4 separate regions of the Homo sapiens genome follow, and all the other regions are linked to region 1. The links are contacts of gene promoters, found by promoter capture Hi-C in blood cells and fetal thymus (Javierre and others, 2016). All regions are on one chromosome and are shown on one strand. The core of a region is centred on a gene start or on the middle of the fragment in contact, and the rest is flanking DNA. Distances in the headings are between cores, read along the strand shown.

What was found. The method cuts DNA at HindIII sites, captures the fragments that hold promoters and counts their contacts. A CHiCAGO score of 5 or more calls a contact.
Region 2: a fragment that was not itself captured here is called in contact with the fragment with the promoter of TAF9 in region 1 in 1 of 17 cell types (total CD4 T cells); the score reaches 8.6 in total CD4 T cells.
Region 3: a fragment that was not itself captured here is called in contact with the fragment with the promoter of TAF9 in region 1 in 1 of 17 cell types (total CD4 T cells); the score reaches 5.1 in total CD4 T cells.
Region 4: a fragment that was not itself captured here is called in contact with the fragment with the promoter of TAF9 in region 1 in 1 of 17 cell types (total B cells); the score reaches 7.1 in total B cells.

Annotation. Positions count from the first base shown.
Region 1 is chr5:69,367,640-69,370,769 of GRCh38, reverse strand. TAF9 (TATA-box binding protein associated factor 9) reads left to right here and starts at 1,250. Exons shown (of 3, transcript NM_003187.5): 1 at 1,250-1,307. AK6 (adenylate kinase 6) reads left to right here and starts at 1,250. Exons shown (of 5, transcript NM_016283.5): 1 at 1,250-1,307. The coding sequence starts at 1,280. It overlaps RAD17 (RAD17 checkpoint clamp loader component), which reads right to left and starts at 952. Exons shown (of 19, transcript NM_133338.3): 1 at 837-952. RefSeq lists an enhancer at 149-698. The HindIII fragment of the contact is 4,867 bases long and covers 769-3,130 here.
Region 2 is chr5:68,272,297-68,275,169 of GRCh38, reverse strand. PIK3R1 (phosphoinositide-3-kinase regulatory subunit 1) reads right to left here. Exons shown (of 16, transcript NM_181523.3): 3 at 1,688-1,780; 4 at 1,157-1,231. Among named protein-coding and RNA genes, the nearest start is that of PIK3R1, 58 kb to the right of the region's middle. RefSeq lists an enhancer at 1-8. The HindIII fragment of the contact is 5,183 bases long and covers 1-2,873 here.
Region 3 is chr5:68,293,417-68,296,268 of GRCh38, reverse strand. PIK3R1 (phosphoinositide-3-kinase regulatory subunit 1) reads right to left here. Exons shown (of 16, transcript NM_181523.3): 10 at 2,786-2,852; 11 at 2,435-2,560; 12 at 1,591-1,733; 13 at 945-1,121; 14 at 781-849; 15 at 1-98. Among named protein-coding and RNA genes, the nearest start is that of PIK3R1, 79 kb to the right of the region's middle. The HindIII fragment of the contact is 1,660 bases long and covers 615-2,274 here.
Region 4 is chr5:68,235,659-68,238,866 of GRCh38, reverse strand. The region is part of intron 2 of PIK3R1 (phosphoinositide-3-kinase regulatory subunit 1); the gene reads right to left. Among named protein-coding and RNA genes, the nearest start is that of PIK3R1, 22 kb to the right of the region's middle. The HindIII fragment of the contact is 4,300 bases long and covers 1-3,208 here.

The DNA of each region.
Region 1 (3,130 bases), core at 1-2,500:
TGTTCAGCCCTCCGCCCCAAATCGTTCACGATTAGAGACTGTGACGTTTCAAAAGGTATACAGGTGGAAAAAAAACACCTATTTGAGTAAATATAGTTTGTAGCTCGAAATAAAAGATGCAGACCAGGGGCCGGACGCGGTGGCTCATGCCTGTAATCCCAGCACCGTGGGAGGACGAGGCGGGCGGATCATCTGAGGTCAGGAGTTTGAGACCAGCCTGGCCAAAACATGGTGAAACCCCGTCTCTATTAAAAATGCAAAAATTAGCCGGGCGTGGTGGTGGGCGCCTGTAATCCCAGCTACTCTGGAGGCTAAGGCAGGAGAATCACTTGAACCCAGGAGGCGGAGGTTGCACTCCAGCCTGGGCGACAAGAGTGAGACTCCGTCTCAAAACAAAACAAAAACAAACAAACAAACAAAAAAAGGTGCAGACTGTTGTCACGGTCAGGTCTCTATTCACTCTTGAAAACAAGATTGACAATTACCTCCTTTAAAAAGCAGATAACTGTCCCTGAAGATGCGAGGTTACTGAAATGAGATGTCAGAGGTAGACCTTCAAGACTATTCCTAGCCGACCCACCACCACCCCACACAGTGAACAGGGAATACTAAGCTCAAATATTCGTCCAACGTAATCCTGTAATCAGTGGGGTGCCGGGTTGAGCTCGCAAATCCCCGCTGCAGGACAGGGCTCTGCACCCTCAATCTTCTCATCCCCAGATGGGATGGGCGGGTCGGGAGGAGGAGCGACGAGAGCCCAGGAAAGCTTGAAGGCAGAGATAGACTCACGTCTCTAAGACATATACATAATATAGCCGCAACCGCGGCGGCCTTACTTTCCCGGAGCTGCATCCCCTTTTAGGCGAAGAGCGGAGGCGACCAGGGACTACCCTAGGTGAAAGGGCAGCCACCTGGCCCTACCCGGGCTCAACGCCGAGCCTCTCGGAGGTACGGCCTCCCGGGGACCTTCCAGACTGGTCGGCGCAAGCGAAGGGCGGGGACCACCGAAGGAGTGTGTGACTTAGGCATCCAGCGCACTGCCTGACCCGAAGTACCGACCCGAGTTATGCCCACCCTCCAACTTTGCGACGGAAATGTGTCATCGAAAGCCAGGTAACCAGTGGGCCGCGGCTGGGCCGCCGGGGCAGGCTAGGGGCGCCGCGGTGGGCTTCGGGGCCTTTGGGGCCGTGGGCTTTTGCTGCCGCCCGCCCCTTCCGGCTCCTCCCTGTAGAGCAAAGGGCACGTGAGCGAGGCGCCCGAAGCCGTCGCGGCGGGGACCATGTTGCTTCCGAACATCCTGCTCACCGGTCAGGGCGCGCGGCCGGGAGGGACTGGGCTGGGGCAGGCTGGGGGCGCAGAGTGCTCTGGGCATCGGGCGCCCAGGTGGGGGCCCCTCACTGCCCTCTTCAGAGGCCGGCCGAGGGCCACGAGGCGGTTGTCAGCGCCCCGGGAGCCGACCCTCGCGGGCGTTGCGGGAGGCGAGGGAGGGGACGCGGAACGTTAATTCCGTTGGCCTGAGGCTCCGGGGGGGGGCGGGGGGGGGTGGAGAGAGGTCGGCAGATCCAGCTCTCCAGCTTGGCAACCTGCTTAGTCTTTCTGAATCTGGTATTTCGTTTGTAAAATGGGTTGTTGATTCTTTGGCAGGGTTGGCCTTGGGATTTTTAGCGAAATAACGTAAGGCCATATCTGCTTCCCGGTAGAGTCATTAATGGTGGATGCCTCACTCCTTAGGCCTCCGTGGGCCGTATTTTATTTTTTCTTTGCTTCTGATAAACGCCTCAGATTAGATTTCGGTAAACGAGTTCAGATGTTTGTGACGTGACGAAATTGCTGTATGCTTTTGTTGAGTTACATCAAAGGATCCCCCCGCCCCTTAAAAGGAAGGCATATAGAGCATTTCGGGTCGTTTCTCGCGTAGGAGTGGGTCTTTGAAGCCATACTCAGGGTGCATGTTATCAGTGAAGGGAATTAAAATGCTGCATAACGACTTTAACGAATATTTTTGCTAGCCGTTTAGTCCTGAAAGTGTTTATCAAATTGTAGGCCATTCGTGGAAAAATCTAATGCATGTAGATTTTATTGCAAGGTACAGAAAAATTAAGACTCTTTGTGGGAACAGTAAAGTTACATCATTCACCCAAAGGTAAAATTGTTGGCAGCGCACAAGACATGTCTGTTTCTGAGAGGTGCAGATTAACCACCCCACAAATAACGTTTAGAATTTTAGATTCCTTAAGCGGAAGATTTTACATCTTTTTGCATGGATCAAACATAGTGCCCTGGTTATTAAGTCATTGTCAAAACTTTAAAGTGAACATTTTATTGAAAACATGTTGAGTCCAGGGTTCAGACTTGGTGTATTATAGTGGACTTGAGGTGACCGTTATTCTCCTGGGTATGGGAACTGGATTATCCCTGTTATCTTTATGCTTAAGTTTAATTTCAGGGATGTTAAATCTGAATAGCTGAAAATTATGAATTTGATGATCTTGAAATGTAATTTTAATAGGTATCAGAAGGGGAAGGTAAAGAACAATGTATATAGTATTGTCATTTATGTAAAAGGGAATATGTGTTGTATTTATATAACAAAGAGTATGTACATATATGTACATTTACATGCAAACATAAATAGGGTTTCTTTGGGAAAGGAAACTGGTTTACAGTGGTTATCTCTAGGGAAGGGCGCAAGGGGTCAGTAGAGGTAATTTTCAGACTGCTTAATTTTAACATGAACAGTTTTGTTTTTGTTCTTGTTTTTGTTTTTGTTTGAGACAGAGTCTCATTATGTTGGCCAGGCTGGTCTCGAACTCCTGCGCTTAAGCGATCCTCCCGCCTTCTCCTCCCAAATTGCTGGGATTACACGCGCGAGCCACCACACGTGGCCATGAACAGTTTTTAAATCTTTATAAGTTAAAGCAAATAGGCCAGGTGGGTGGCTCATGCCTGTAAATCCCAGCACTTTGGGAGGTGGAGGTGGGGAGATCGCTTGAGCTCAGGAGTTTGAGCTTAGCCTAAGCAACATAGCCAAACCCCGTCTCTACAAAAATTAACCAGGGCATGGTGGTGCATACCTGTGGTCCTAGCTACCGGACAGGCTGAGATGGGAGGATTGCTTGAGCCCAGGAGG
Region 2 (2,873 bases), core at 240-2,739, 1.1 Mb after region 1:
AAGGAAAAATGGAGTTAAACATTTTTTTAACTTTTGAAACATCTGGTCAGAACATTTCAAGTGTAAGAATTTACTGATACTGATAAAGGTCTAGTCTCCTCCTTTTCTCCAAAAAAACCTCTTTTCTAAAAGTCTCAGAAGTTGCCTCATTTTGAAACTGCCTCATGCTTCAAATTCTCATTTACTGTCATGTGGGCATTCTTTGTACAATTATACCTCTGACGGAGTCCAAAACTGAGTTTCACTCTTTTTGGCTTAAACACCTAATTTCAGTTAAAATGATGTGAGGCAGTATATAATTTTTTTAAGCGTTATGAGGGAATGAAGGATCTTGAAAGATTTATAAGAAGATGACTTGCTGGAATGCTGGCAAGTAAATTGATTTGTAGTTTTTCATCTATGCCAAAGGAGGGAGTGGGTGTTTGGGGTACTAAAGCCCTCTTGGCTAAATTAATTAGTGTTATTTAACAAACTGTCCTCAATTCTTCCCAATTCCACATCCAGTGACATCATGTTGGTTAGCTTGAAATAAGCCCCGGTGGGAATATTCATGCCACAAAAATGGGCAGATGCTACAAACCAGGGCCTTTTTCTTCCTAGAGAGTTGGTTTATCAGCACACCACTGAACATAACAATATCGTGATGTTACTTAATGCACTCAACACAAAAAAAGAAAGAAGGCAAGCCAGAAAGAAAGGGAAACGGAAAAGGAAAATGGAAGGGAAAGGTAATAAAAGAAAAAGGATGTCAGAAGAGACATTTCTTAAGTGACATAGGCTTAAAAATATTTTTTAATTGATTCAGATGAATTAGATGTAGCCAAATTCAGGGTCAAGGAAAGATGGTAGATACACAGAGCGAGAGAAACACCAAGAGGTGGTTTCTCTCCTCTGCAGGACCCAGGGCCTGATGGCTATGATGATGACCAACATGCCTGCAGGGAGGCGTGCACACACTTGCAGCCCAACTCAGGAGAAAAATTTCAAAGGTTTGCACTGTTACCATAACAGGGCAGGGAGAACTGTACATGATTTGAGTTCCCTTTAAATTTAGAACACTGCATAGATTAAATTCAATTTTGTGTGTGTGCATTACCTGAAACAGAAAGCCAAGACCTGTCTTTCCCATTTGCATTTCTAGCTCTGTGACACTCACCACAATCAAGAAGCTGTCGTAATTCTGCCAGGTTGCTGGAGCTCTGTGTTCTGTATAGAGTTGAACATTCCAGACCTAGGACACAAAACAGACCACAGACCATGTATGCAAAACACAGCTCTCTGGAGAACCTGTGAGGCTGCTGCCAGAGACATTCCAGTTTCCATCCAGTATCTGTTCTAGATGTGTACCAAATATTCTTGGAAGTCAACTCCTACTATTAATCTTACCTGGCATGTTGATAATTTTGGCAAAACCATCTGGCCTCTAAGAAGAAAGTTAATCATATTTATTAAATTATGAAGAATTTAATAGTTTCCATATGGAAACTACATGATAATCTAGAGTTAGAAATTATAGACTGAGACATTTTTCCCAGTACTTAGCCCCAAACAGTTTGAGTGTCCAGCAGAGTATCTGGACATAGCTGGTAGTAGGAAATTTACTTAATGAATGCACAAGAGACAAATAATAAGAGCCATGAAATAAGGGTAGAACAAAGGAACTGATGCCCTCTAGCAGTCTGGTTACCTTTCTTTTCAATGGCTTCCACGAGCTTGATAAGAAGAGGCGGGGCAATGTCAGGAGGGGCAAACTGCTCTGCAAGATCCGGGAGAGTCAAAGCTGCAAACAACAAAATCCCACCATTGTATTTAATTTGGATAGTTGAATGCATTAGACCACAATGAAGGACGTACAAAATAATTTAATTACATCAGGCCCGAGCAAGAAGAACCCCTGCTCTGGGCTTTTGCACTTTCCAGGCCAAAGTGATATGCCCACTGCTTCTCACCTAGGGTCTACTCAGAGTAATGCTCCAGGATTTCCTGCTAAATGGCCTCTTATGGCCTTTCCCCCAGGTCCACCCTCCCCAGGACAAACCCCCCTGTCTAGGTACACCCCTGGGCCCCAAAGGTGGGGGGAGTGGCAGGATGGATGGGAGTTTGGATGTGCAGGGAGAAGCCAGGGATGAACCAGGATCCAGCTCTCCCCATAATACCACACTCTAGGGCAGAACTCTCAGGAGCCCAAGAACCTGAATTCAGATCTCTCCTCCTGGTCATTAGGAAGAAATAACTGCCTAGAAAGGATGGGACAGATTTTATTGAACAGTTGACATGATTTATAACAAAAATACTTAGGCACAGGGTACTTGGGCCTCTTTTTGCATTCTTGCCCCAAGCCTCACAAATGCCAGGTATGGGCTGAGTCTCAGATCCAGAAGCCAATATGAATGATCACTGCCCACTTGATATCAAAATAAATTTCTGTATAACTTTGTCAAAGCCTTTGTTTATGTATTTTTTGGTCAATTAGTAGTTTTTAAAATGTGGTGTTTTCGTAAACTTTTTGCATGCGTTTTAACCATTTACAATGATACCAAAAAATCTAACTGGATGACACTCATAAATAACATTCTTCAACATTACATTGATAACCTTATTCTCAGTCCAAAAAAAATAAATAAGACCATTGTAAGCAAAAAAATTCTCAAATTATGCCAGAAGAGGGAGCTAAATATATTCATCTTAAATTTGTGAAACTGCAAAATAAAGGTAAATTAAAGTCATTATGAAAATATAAGTACAACCTGTTTATTAGCCTCATTGCTTGCAGTCTTTTCTAGGAATAATTTATATAATCTGAGAAAGACTAAATATTTGCAATTTTGTTTCTGTGAGATTTTACCAGTATAGCTCTTTATTAGAAGCCATAT
Region 3 (2,852 bases), core at 195-2,694, 1.1 Mb after region 1:
ACAGGTTTTCAGCTTTGTTTCGGTTGCTGCTTCCAACATTCCATGTCTTCTCATCATGATGGGGCAAATCTTCATCATCTTCCACCAGTGAATATTGGCTAGGCAGGCAGGACAGAAAGTTTCTAAATGAAGAGTGCAGGAGCCATCAGCCTGCCTTGCTGTCTTCCCTAGGCATACCCCCGTCACTTCCCTCCTGGCCCCTACCAAGCCAGTCAGACTGGCCATCACATGCCTGCCTCTGCCCGACCTGAGTTTTCCTCTCCTGGTATTCAGCCTCCAGTGCAACCTCCCAGGACAAAGAGTTACCAATCAACTGTACTATTTCTGTTTTCAAGCAACCACACTCAGGTACCTGGGCAGAGTGGAAGGTATTAAAACAATCTCGTTTATCCAGTTTAGATCAGGAAATTGACTAGGCAGATTGCCAGTTTTTGACTAATTCAAACAAAGTATATACTTAAGCTTTAAAATATATTAAGCATAATTATTTTTTCTCTGACTGTTCCAAAAATATTTTGGGATTTTTCAGATGTTCAGGGACATCATTATGGACACAGAGAGTTGTTTCACAGCATTATGAGTAAAAATAAATCCTAGTCCTCCTTAGCTAAGCTTTCTTTTTTTAAAATTCTGGATAATGGCACTGAGTTTATACATTTTCTCCTACAAGATGTTCCAAACTCAGTAAAATTCCTCACTTGTTCTAAAAACAAAGCAAGTCATGCATTTTCCTAAAATGAGAAAAATCTTCTGCTATCACCATCTTTAGTAACTACTTACTCTTCAGTGTTTTCATTGCCCAACCACTCGTTCAACTTCTTTTGCCGAACACCTTTTTGAGTCAACCACCTGAAAAACAGTTTTGAAAAGAGAACGCATTAACTCATCCTGAATTGTAGCAATCACCAATTATTCATGTATAGGATTCCATTTCAAATACTTACATCAAGTATTGGTCTCTCGTCTTTCTCAGCTGGATAAGGTCTGGTTTAATGCTGTTCATACGTTTGTCAATTTCTCGATACTCAGCTGCCTGCTTCTTCAAGTCTTCTTCCAATCTTCTTCTACTGTCAATAATTTCACTGATTCGAGACTTCAACTTATCATAATTATGCATAATCCTGCAGGCAAAAGAAACGTATTTGTTATTATCTGGGTACATCAGGAACGGTCCCCAAAGTTTATGAAAAGTTTCACTATGGTTTCCCAGCAGTTTTCCTTAGGTAAAGCGTGGCTTCTCTTCCTGTCATTTTTTTTTTTTTTTGGAGTGGCTCAACATATTTTATTTTATTTTATTTTTTTATTTTTATTATACTTTAAGTTTTAGGGTACATGTGCACATTGTGCAGGTTAGTTACATATGTATACATGTGCCATGCTGGTGCGCCGCACCCACTAACTCGTCATCTAGCATTAGGTATATCTCCCAATGCTATCCCTCCCTCCTCCCCCCACCCCACCACAGTCCCCAGAGTGATATTCCCCTTCCTGTGTCCACGTGATCATTCAAAGCACAGAAAGCGAGATCATCTTTAAATGGTTTTAGAGGATTTTGGTTATCTCTAGCACAAGAACAAGGGAAACACCAACCTTTGTATTTCTTTCTCATTGCCTTCACGTTTAAACTTTTCTATGTATTCTTTGCTGTACCGCTCTTGGGTCTGGCACTGTTCTTCAAATATTTTTATGGTTTCATTAAATGCTTCAATAGCTGTCCTTTTCATTTGGATTTCCTGCAACATAATTTTAAAAAGATAATGTCATACCTTTCATAGAACAATCTCTTACTGCAAGACACTACCAGGACATTTGATCTGTATTATTAGCAGAGTGGGACTCAAATTCATAAAATCCATTAAAACAGTATCCCAGAAACAAGTATTTCCTCTGGAGAATTTTCTCAATCTATGAAAAATGATTGCGTAGCAATTTCCTATAGTTTTTATCTTCTTAAAAGCTATTGTAGTTTATAGCATCCCTGTTGTTTTCTGTTCCCTCTGGCATTCCCAGATACATGAGTGACCAGTGAAGAATAAGGGTCTAGAAAAGCACAGCAGTATATAGCCCTTCCTTTTCATGGTAGGATATATATTAATGCCTAAATCTCCATTTCAGGGATTAGACAAGTCTGTGAAACTTCCAGTTATTACTAACTTCCAATCTAAACAGGATCCTTCTATCACGAATTAAATCAACTTGAAACTCAGTGACTGCTTCAGTTATCACGTGAACTTAATTTATTATTCTGATACTTAAAATTTTTGGTTTAAAGCTTTAGAGATATTACACTAGAATAATCAACAATGATTCACAAATAAATGCTCTCACCCCCACCTCATTCGTAAAAACTCAACCTTTTAAATTCTTTTTTCCATGTTAGTCTTTAAAAGTTTAGAACTCTTATTTTTTAATCTGATTTTCATAGAAAACTCACCTGGGATGTGCGGGTATATTCTTCATATAATCTATCATATTCTCGACTTTTTTCTTGAAACTGAGTGTTATATTCATGTAATTTTTTCCCTACAGCTTCAATATTATCTTCTTTGACAACTTGATCCTAGAAAGATTAAAATAAATTCAATGGATAAGGTATTTAATCAAATAACAATTGTTTAACAAAATAGCTGACATGGAAACATCTTTAAAATTGCAATTATGTAATTACGAGTGTCAAGTTTTTTAGACTTGATTACATGTAATTCATCTGCTTCAAATGTTTTCTAAGTATTAAAAGGATCTTGTCTAAACATCGTAACTGGATAATTCATTCAGTTTTTATTACCTGTTGGTATTTGGATACTGGATAAAGTAATTTCACATCCAATTTGGGATTATACTGAGCTAGAGAT
Region 4 (3,208 bases), core at 591-3,090, 1.1 Mb after region 1:
CAAACATATTTTTCATTGATTTCACATGAAAAATACGGCAACACTTTCAAATCTGCACACGTGCATGAAAACTTCTTATAATGATGTTGTTCTATTTCACTTGGTTCCCTGTTTATCAACACTTGTAATTCTCCTGTTAGATATTCTCTCTATATATCTTCTCCCTCATTTTATGTTTTTATCCTTTGGATTCCAAAGAGCTTTATCTTGTTTCTCCTTCAAAACACAGACTTTATTTTCAGCTCATTACCCCCTTACACATGAATTTTAATATGCTATTACATTTTTAACTTAGTCTTTTTTTTATTGTTTCACTCCGATTTCATCCCATCTTACTGTCTTTTCATCTCATAACCGCCTGACTACTTTCTGTCCCTTTCATGAGGGACAGAAATAAATCATAATACTAAGTGGAAATACTATAACAGAAATAAATTATAATCAATCAGTTCTGGAGGTCTACTCTTCTTTCAAATCTCCAGTATGATCTCCCTTTTTCTTTTATAGATGGACATGGTTCAGTAGGCTCGGTTAGGTTTTTCCTGTTTATCACTAAACAAGGAAAGACCTACCCATGCCTGGTGACTGCTCTGAGCTAAGGGATCCACTTGGGTGCTAGTTATTTGGCAGTCTGAGATGAAAAGGCCAGTTCCAAGGTGGTTTTCATTTCAACATGGTTTTGGTTAGCCTGAGAGAAAAATCTCCTGCGTTCACCGCCTGACTTTCTGATGCTCTGAGTGATGGAGAGCCTGTAATACTCAAAACCCTCAGTGAACACAGGTCTTTCTAACTCTACCCCACCTTCAGCACTTTATTTTCATGGATCAGGATTCTCAGAATATAACAGTAATAGCCCCTAACTTACCATTCCAGCTCTCTCTGGTTATTTTCTAAGTTGTGACCTCCTACTGATTAGAAAGGCTCTGTCGGAGAGGACAAGGAAGAGGGGGGAAGAGCATTCCTGAGGACAGTTCCCTGGGCCCTTTCTGAATTATGGACAGAGTTAGGGAAGAGATGGGTCTGCCCTGCTACTTTTAGGTAGTCAAAACTTATCCTATATTTTTTAACCCCGGTTCTGTTGAGTTTACAGTAGGCATTTCTTCCCACTAATTCTAGTTTTATGTGTTAAGAATATTTTTTTTTTTCTTCCTATCTTCTTAGGAATTGTACTGAGAAGAGGCTCTCTCGGAGACTCTCAAGAAGCTGTGTCAGGACTACCAGTCAGAGGCCTTTTTAACTCAGAAAACATTTAAAGTTTTTTTTTTTTTTTTCAATGGGAAAATAAGTAAATAAGTAAAATTTCTCAACTTCGCATTCGAGAAGTTCTGCTGGCACTCACTACCTTTGAGAGACTATCTCTGGGCAATGTCACACTGTCCTATTAGACATCTGAAAATAAAATTCACCTGTGCCTTTCCCTTACCCCCTCAATCACCCCTCTGCCCTTGGAATTCAGGTAACAGAAACACAAATGTTATAAATTTGGCAGTGGCCAACTTTCCTGAGAAATATGGTTTGGCATTCAAAGGAATTTGGCAATTTGTACTCAGTCTTTTTAAATGGCATTTACTGCTAACCTTGACATAATTCAGGTACAAGACTTCAGATTCATCTGAATCAACTTCAGGTTTCTTGTTTTTATGGACTTCAAGCAGCTGCTATCCACAGACCAAAACACACAATTCTTATGCTGGATACCCTCAAGTTTTTGGCTTTTAAGCAAGTAATAACTCCAGTCTGTGCTCCATTTTAATCAAAATGATATAATTATGAGTCTGAAATAAGAAAACTTGAAACTCAGGGAAACATTTAAAGCAGACATTTAACTTCTTCAAAAACAACAGAAACGAAGGTAAATCTATTTATCAAGGTTATAAAACTTTTGAGTTATCTGATCATGGTGTATTTCTTCCTGAGAAAAATTGCATTTACATGCACATACCCAAAACTTTGTCTTAGCTTCATGGCCTTATCCGTCTCTTTGTAATTCAATCCTTTCAAATATTTACCAGACATAAGAAAATGTTGTAAGTCACATATAAATTGGAGGTAAATTTCTGGAGTTGCATGAATGTAATAGCTAGTGAAACCTAACAGATAAAGCAGACATAATTGAAGACCACCCAAAAAGCAAAATTCAGTTACCGATCACTTCACAAGAGACTGCTTAAGGAGATCCTCATGACTGCCTGCCTTGCCCAAAATGTTCTTGAATCTTATCAATGTGCCATCACTATGATATTTTTTAATATGATCACTTTTTAAATATTTACACAATCACATGACCTTCAGTTTTTAAATCTCAAAAACGGTTATAGGGCCAGGCGTGGTGGCTCATGCCTGCAATCCCAGCACTTTGGGAGGCCGAGGTGGGCGGATCACAAGGTCAAGAGATCGAGACCATCCTGGCTAACACAGTGAAACCCCGTCTCTACAAAAAATACAAAAAATTAGACGGGCGTGGTGGCAGGTGCCTGTAGTCCCAGCTACTCGGGAGGCTGAGACAGGAGAATGGCGTGAACCCAGGAGGCGGAGCTTGCAGTGAGCCGAGATCGTGCCACTGCTCTCCAGCCCGGGCGACAGAGCGAGACTCCATCTCAAAAAAACAAACAAACAAACAAAAAAAGGTTATAATATGCCATCTTTGCAGGGTGGTTGTGAGCGTCAAATGAAAAATGTCTATAAAATGCCTGGCAGGGCCAGCGTGGTGGCTCGCGCTGGTAATCCCACCAGTTTAGGAGGCCGAGGTGGGTGGATCACCTGAGGTTAGGAGTTCGAGACCAGCCTGACCAATATGGTGAAACCCTGTCTCTACTAAAAATACAAAAATTAGCCAGGCGTGGCAGCATGTGCCTGTAGTCCCAGCTACTTGGGAGGCTGTGGCTGGAGAACTGCTTGAACCCAGGAGGCAGAGGTTGCAGTCAGCTGAGATTGAGCCACTGCACTCCAGCCTGGGCAACAGAGCAAGATTCAAAAAAAAAAGAAAAAAAAAAATGCCTGGCAGAATAATTAGCAAAGAGTAAGTTTGCAAATGTTTAAGGTTCATTTTGAAGAAGACATTTTCAATAGTTAAACAGACCCACAGGGAAGTGTAAGACAAAAACTATAATATGTACTTTGATATACTCTAACCAAATTCATTATATCTCATTCCTTGGTACTCCACAGATATTCCTTATTATTTAGCAATAAAATCATCTTGTTCTAA